Linked DNA regions of Homo sapiens: region 2 is linked to region 1. The links are contacts of gene promoters, found by promoter capture Hi-C in human tissues and cell types (Jung and others, 2019). All regions are on one chromosome and are shown on one strand. Each heading gives the region's core, a stretch centred on a gene start or on the middle of the fragment in contact. The rest is flanking DNA. Distances are from core to core; before and after follow the strand shown. Region 1 holds the start of AGAP1 (ArfGAP with GTPase domain, ankyrin repeat and PH domain 1). Region 2 overlaps SH3BP4 (SH3 domain binding protein 4).

The links. Contacts are between HindIII fragments. The study calls those that stand out against the background at their distance.
Region 2: a contact is called between a fragment that was not itself captured here and the fragment with the promoter of AGAP1 in region 1, in 1 of the 25 tissues and cell types used here (dorsolateral prefrontal cortex).

What each region holds. Positions count from the first base shown.
Region 1 is chr2:235,492,363-235,495,671 of GRCh38, reverse strand. AGAP1 (ArfGAP with GTPase domain, ankyrin repeat and PH domain 1) reads right to left here and starts at 1,629. Exons shown (of 18, transcript NM_001037131.3): 1 at 823-1,629. The coding sequence starts at 985. RefSeq lists an enhancer at 1-375. The HindIII fragment of the contact is 11,360 bases long and covers 1-3,309 here.
Region 2 is chr2:234,955,626-234,958,933 of GRCh38, reverse strand. All of the region lies in intron 1 of SH3BP4 (SH3 domain binding protein 4), which reads right to left. Among named protein-coding and RNA genes, the nearest start is that of SH3BP4, 5.3 kb to the right of the region's middle. The HindIII fragment of the contact is 3,697 bases long and covers 94-3,308 here.

The DNA of each region.
Region 1 (3,309 bases), core at 380-2,879:
AGGCAGACTGCTGCTGTAGCTCTCCTGGAAGGCCATGGCCCTGCCTGACATGCAGAGGGAAGCGGGTGGGGATTCTGCCCAAGCATCCTGCCCCTCTTAAAACCACAGCACCCTCCACTTCAGTGGCCTCCAACTGCAGACATATGAAAGCGAGACCCTTCCGCTGGAGGACGCCCTGCCCTCCTGGTAGGGTTCTTCCTCTAATCCAACCCCGGACTTTTGGTTGGTACAAAGCACACTACCGGTTCCAGCGTTTGCACAGGGGCACCTGGACACGATGCTCCCGCGGCTAGGGCTGGCTCTCGGCATCCACTAAGTTCAACTGCACCCCTGAATTAAGCAAACACACTAAGGAGGGCAGCCCTGCACCGCCCAAACACGCCGGCCCGGGCCTCGCCCCCAGCGGCAGCACTTCTCAGAACACGTCTTCAACGTCCAGCAAGACGCCCAGGCCTGGCCTGGTAACCTGTCAGGGGTCGGGTGGCGCCGACCCCGCCGGCTGCCCCCAGGCGTCTGCTGGGCCGGGACGCTCCGGCAGCCCAGGACGCGGAGGCACCGAGCCACTTTCCCGCAGGAGAGACTCTATTGTCCACGATCAAATTAACGCTGACGATCTATCTTCCTGGCGGAGCTCGCGGCGCGGCGGGGCGCAGGCGACGCTCGCCCGGCCTTGCAAGACAAGCAGCGCCGCAGTGCTCCCTCGGCGGAGCAGCCGCGTGCCCCGGCCGGCGTGTGTGGACACCCGCACGCACACAGCGCACACCCCCGCCGCGCCGCGGGCGTCCGTGCCTTCCCGAGGCCCCAAGGCGGCCCGGCCCTCACCTTCGATGGCGATGACGTGCTCCCGGATCTGGTTCTGCAGCACCGGCTCCTCCACGCGCTCCAGCAGCTCGTAGATGGAGTAGATGTTGGGGTGGACCGACTCGAAGCGCTGGATCTCGGCCCGGATGGCAGCCGAGTTGGCCAGCTGCTGCTGGTAGTTCATGGTGCAGGCGCCGCGCCCGGAGCCGCGCGCCCCCCGCCGCCGCCGCCCCGCGCCCCGGGGCCCGCGGGCCGCCGAGCCCGGGGCGCCGCAGCCCCCGGGGAGCCGGGCCCGCCGGCGGCGGGCGGAGGAGGCGCGAGAAGAAAGGCGCGGGCGGAGCAGGCGCGGGGCTGGCCCGCGGGCTCAGTTCATGGCCGGGACGCGCGGCCGGCGAGCGAGCGGGCCCCGGCGTCCCGGGTCAGCGGGCCGCCCGGGGGGAGCGCGCCCCCATGGAGCGCGCCGCGGCGGGTGCGGCCGGCCCCGAAGGAGGCTTGCTCGGGTGACTTCCTGAGCCGCAGCCGCCTTCCAGCCCTAGGCGCTGCTCCGCGGAGCAGCCATTAAAGCCCAGGCAGCCGCCGCGCTCCGAGCGCCGGGGCCGAGGGCCGACCCCTGGGCAGTGTGGCCGCGCTGCTCTGGGCTCCTGGCCGTGGCGTGGGTCCGCGCGCTGCGTACTGCGCCGCCCGGCGCGCCGGGGCCCCCGCGCGAGCCCGCCGTGCGCCGCCCGCCGACCTGGGACCGAGTCGCAGGCGCCTTGCAAGCCGCGGAGCCCGCTCCGAGCGCCGCCCGCCGCCTGCCCGGCCGGCCCCCTCCCTGGCACGCAGGGCTCCGGCCCACGTCGGCCCCGCCCCCGCCTTCGCCCTCGCCCGCGCCCGCGCCCGCGCCCCGCCTGCCCGCGCGCTTGCCGCCCTCCGGCCGCCGGCGCTGCGTCCTCCTCGGCGCTTCCCAGCGCGCCGGATCCCGGGGAATTGCGCCAGGCCCCGCCCCGCGCCTGCCTCTGGGCTTCCTGGGACTTGTAGTCCGCGCCCCCGGCGGGCCGGGCCAGGGGGGTGCGCGGGGTGTTCACACTGGGCCGGGGTGCGGGACCCTCCCGCCGGCCAGGCCCCGCGCCTGCCAGCTCCTGCCCGGGTTCTCGCGGCGGCCCCCGCGCCCCGGCACGGGGGAGGCTGCCCGGGAGTTCGCCCGCCGCGTTGTTGTTTGTTTCCAAGCGGCTGGCTCCAGGAGCCTCTGCGACTCGCCAGTGTCCCACGGCCTCGCTTGGTTGGCGAGCCTCCCCTTCCCGCGTTTGGTAACTTTCTGCCTCCTTTCTCAAAGTAGCACACGTGCTTTCCCTTAATACATGCGATTTCTTTCCAAAGGCGAAGCGCCTCCTGAGCCCATGCGGCGTGGGGGTCCACACTCCACGAGTGGACTGAAGTTTAGACAGGGGTGCGAGATGCGACAAAATACCACAGAGGCTTTCGAGGCATCCTTCTCCCTTACAATTTTTAAAAATCGAGCCGTGGATCTCAAGCTGCTGCCTCCTGAGCGCCGCTGCCTGCTCCACGGGGTTCCTTAGCCCCTGGACCGTCTGTCCCACCGCAATCCCCGATTTAGGTCATCCCCGGGGACCCCCCGCGGAGCTGGGACCGCACTGCAGCAGCGCTTGGAAGGCTCGTCTCGCCGCTTTGAGGCAAATGGGACCCTTCAGATTTGCGGAAGCACTGGCTGCCGGGCGGTCCCACAAGGTCCTGGATTGAGGACACTGGCTGAGTCCCTGCCCCCAGCCATCGGCGTGGTCTTTCTGAAACTCAGCCAGCCGGGCCGGCATCCCCGTTTAAAGCCTGCTGAGCCTTCACCGGCTCACATGCAGTTTGCTATGGCCTAAGCACCCTGGTATCCAGCCGTGTTGGCTTACTGGCTGGGCTCCACAACTTCCCAAAGATGTGCTGACATTTTTACCATTCCGGACCTGCTTGTCTTCTCCTTGACACTTAGGCACAGGTCATCACTCCATGCCTCGGGCTGTCCACGCATAAGTAACTCTAGTAACCAAGAGGCAGGCATGTGGCCTCACCAAACCTGACCTATCAGCAGCAGCTGATCACTTGCGCTCCTGGAAACCCCTTCTCCCAGTGCTCACCAGGGCTTCCTGCTGTGTTTCTGGCTTCACTGTCCCTTTTGTGGTTTTCTTCTACTCCCCTAACCTCTAAATATGGAGGGCCCCAGGGCTTATGGTTAGGCCTCTTTTCTTTGCTATTTGCTGTGATCGCCCCTGTCTTATGGCTTTGAATATCATACACAGGTTAATGAAGCTCATATGTATCTCCAGCTGTGACCTCACCCCTGAATAACAAATTCACATCCACCTGCATCCTCAACATTTCCTGAAGCCTAGCTGGTGTTTAAGTCCAGCATGTCGCCAGCTGAACTCCTGCCATCCCTTCCGGCTACATCTCCTAAAAATCTTCTCCATCCCAGTCATCGGCAACTCCAGGCCACCATTTGCTTAGGCGAAAAATTCAGTGCTG
Region 2 (3,308 bases), core at 693-3,192, 540 kb after region 1:
TCCCTCTGACCCAACCCTGGCTCCCTCCTGCCCTGTCTCCACACCATCAAATACGGTCCAATTTCTTTTATCACCAACATTCTTCTGCGTGGCCTCCACTCTGTGCTATTTCTTCTATTATAGGAGTTTCTCCACTACCACAGTGACAGGGTTCCAGTCCTCCCGTTCATAAATCCTCCGCACATGATAGACTCAGAACTGTCCCGTCTGCTTTGAGCTCTCAACCCCCTCTCCCCCTACCCCCATCTTTCTCCTCCTTGACTTCAGGGCCCCGCAGGGCACTTGTTCTCCCATCCCAGCTGCTCCTCCACTGGCTCCCCCTTAGCCTTCCTGCCCCTTCTGGGGGTGATCCAGCAGTGTGATCCTGGCCCCTGCTCTTCACTCTAGGTTCCCATGTATGAGCTCTTCCACACTCACTGCCCAACTCTAAGGAAGTGAGCCCAGGACCGCCCTCTCTCAAACAGCCCTCCTCTGGCCAGCAGGACAGACCCTTCCCCAGACACCCCCCCAGGGCGAGCACCTCCTTGAATCCTGCACCCCAGGGGCCTCGTGTGCCTCTCCCCAGTCCCAGCCCCGCTCACCATGGCTGGCTCTGAAGTTGAATGACTTTTCCCTCCCACATGCTTACTGCCTCCAAGGAAAGCTCTCACATTTTAAAATAATTTTACTGGTAATTATGATGGAGAAAAAATAATCAGCTTATGTGCGCACCCAAGCTCAAGGACTCTTACAAAGTGTTCAGCTATGGTCCTTGGGCGGTAGGGTTTCTCTTTCCTTCATCTGGGTGGTCCCAGTAAGCCCCTCTGCTTTAATATCTGAGAACAGCTCATCACACCCACCCAGGGGGTCTGCCTGGCTTCATCCTGACCCCCTGACTTCCTGGAAGGAAGACTCTTTTCCTTTCTAGACCAGCAGAAGCAACCAAAGCCAAACAAGTATGTGGACCTCATCAGTGTAGGACACGTGCCCCTGGAGGAGGACAGACCTGTTGGGGGGAAGATGGGCTCCGCCTGCCTCTCCTAGCCCAGCACTTCCTCACCCTCTACGAGGCCTTAAGGAAAAACATTCCCTGCTCTGCAAGGGAGATCTCACCTCCTTGGGCTCAAATACACAGGGTCTGCCACGCCCTGCCCCAAACTGCACCCCCTCAGCTTTCTTCTTGAACAAATTCATCACCACATCCCTGGTGTTCAACGTGGATATACATTACAGTCACCCGGGAAGCTTTCCAAATCTACAGAGGTCTGGACCCACACCCAGACATTCTGATTCAACTGGGGATGGGCCTGGAACATGGATTGTTGTTTTTTTAAGCTCCCGGGTGATTTTAAAATGCAGCCTGAGTTTTGAAGCCTTCTACTCTTGCTGGCCAAATTCGGTTACTCAGTAGTACCCAAATCCTTTTTCAGTACTGCTCCTAGGCAGACATGGACCAAGCAGAAGTGAGGCCACAATTTCTTCCATTAAAGTGATGGGGGTGACGGAAGGGGAAGCAGGGGTGTCGTGTGGGTGGGCTCAGTGCAATGAATGGTGAGCAGGACCCAGCTCTTCTTGGCTCACACAGATTGTTAACTATTTAGTAATGTTCCCAGCCCAAACTGGCAGTTTGAAATCAGGCTGGGCATGGTGGCTTGCATCTGTAATCCCAGCACTTTGGGAGGCCAAGCTGGGCCGTTCACCTGAGGTCAGGAGTTCAAGACCAGCCTAGCCAACATGGGGAAGCCGGTCTCTACTAAAAATACAAAAACTTCTGGGCGTGGTGGCACATGCCTGTTGTCCCAGCTACTCAGGAGGCTGAGGTAGGAGAACAGCTTGAATCTGGGAGGTGGAGGTTGCAGTGAGCCGAGATTGCACCACTGCACTCCAGCCAGCCTGGGTGACAGAGTGAGACTCAAAAAAAAGAAAAAGAAATTAGCCATGGTGGGAATATTTACGTCACAGAAATTGGCAGATACTGCAATCGAAGCTCTGCTTTCTCCTCAGAGAGCAGGTTTACCGGCACACTATGAGCTCAGGGACCTCCTACATTGGAGGGGCTAGAAAAGCTTCCTGCCTGCTCATAAAAATGGGGCAAGGGCAGGGCAACATACCTCACACCTGTAAGCCCAGTGCTTTGGGAGACCAAGGCTGGAGGATCACTTGAAACCAGGAGTTCAAGACCAGCCTGGACAACATAGCGAAACCCCATTTCTACAAGAATTTAAAAAAAAAAACTACCCGGGCGTGCTGGTGTGCACCTGTAGTTCCAGCTACTCAGGAGGCTGAGGAAGAAGGATTGCTTGAGCCCAGGAGTTGAAGGCTGCAGTGAGCTATGATTGAGCCACTGCACTCCAGCCTGGGCAACAGAGAAATCTCAACTCAAAAAAAAAAAAAAAAGAGGCAGGGTTGTCCTCAGTTATGCAGATTTAATAAAAACTTGGAACCATAAAATCCTTTCAAAGGAAGTATTCTTCTCAATCTCTACAGAAGAGTTGGGCTAACAGGCTTCAGCAAAGAGAGCTCCCCTGAGATAAGCTTTTATTGCGCAGATAAGAATAATCTCATTAGTATGTCATTTATTTGATTGTAAAGAGGAAGGTGGAACCCTTATTGTACATTTACTTAACCGCCTTCCTATAATCTTAATCTCATTCTAGTGACCCCATGTGCCCAAACACCCTCTTTTCACGGGACAAGGAAAGACATCGTACCAAATCCTGGGTTATCCCAACTTCAAAGTCACAATCTTCCAAATAAACCTTGCTTCGCCCTGGTGACGGGGTGAGGGTTTCACGAACAAAGGTGCAAAATGGCTGCCTTCCATTTAGGCTGAGAAAGCGTCACATGTTTTAAAGATTTCATCACCTTCAGAGTACAAGCTATTTTCTAATTGTGTGAGGGAGGCTGGCACTCCGCTATTTGCATGCCTGTATCTTCAGGCTCCAATGTGTGACTGAGAGCCGTTTGTTTCTTTAATTTCAGCACCCCGGGAGATGTGATGACGAGCTCTGGACTTGGACAGATCCAGGTTCAAATCCCAACTCAAGCACTCATTAAAGTCTAAGGTTGGAGGAGTTTCTTAAATTCTCGTAGCTTCCCTGTAAAATGAAACCCCTGGTAGTTTTCGTGAGGATTCAAAAGGGCACACATGCAGCCTAGCATATGGTAAGCCCTCAACGAGTGGTACCTATTTCCATCCCTCAAAATACCCCAAACCTTAAATTAGAGGAATTCCATACAGCAATTCTACTTCCTCAAATCCATATGCTTCCTGATGACTTCAGGAGGCACTGTTCACCTGGAAGATGGGAGGCTGTGATGTTCTACAT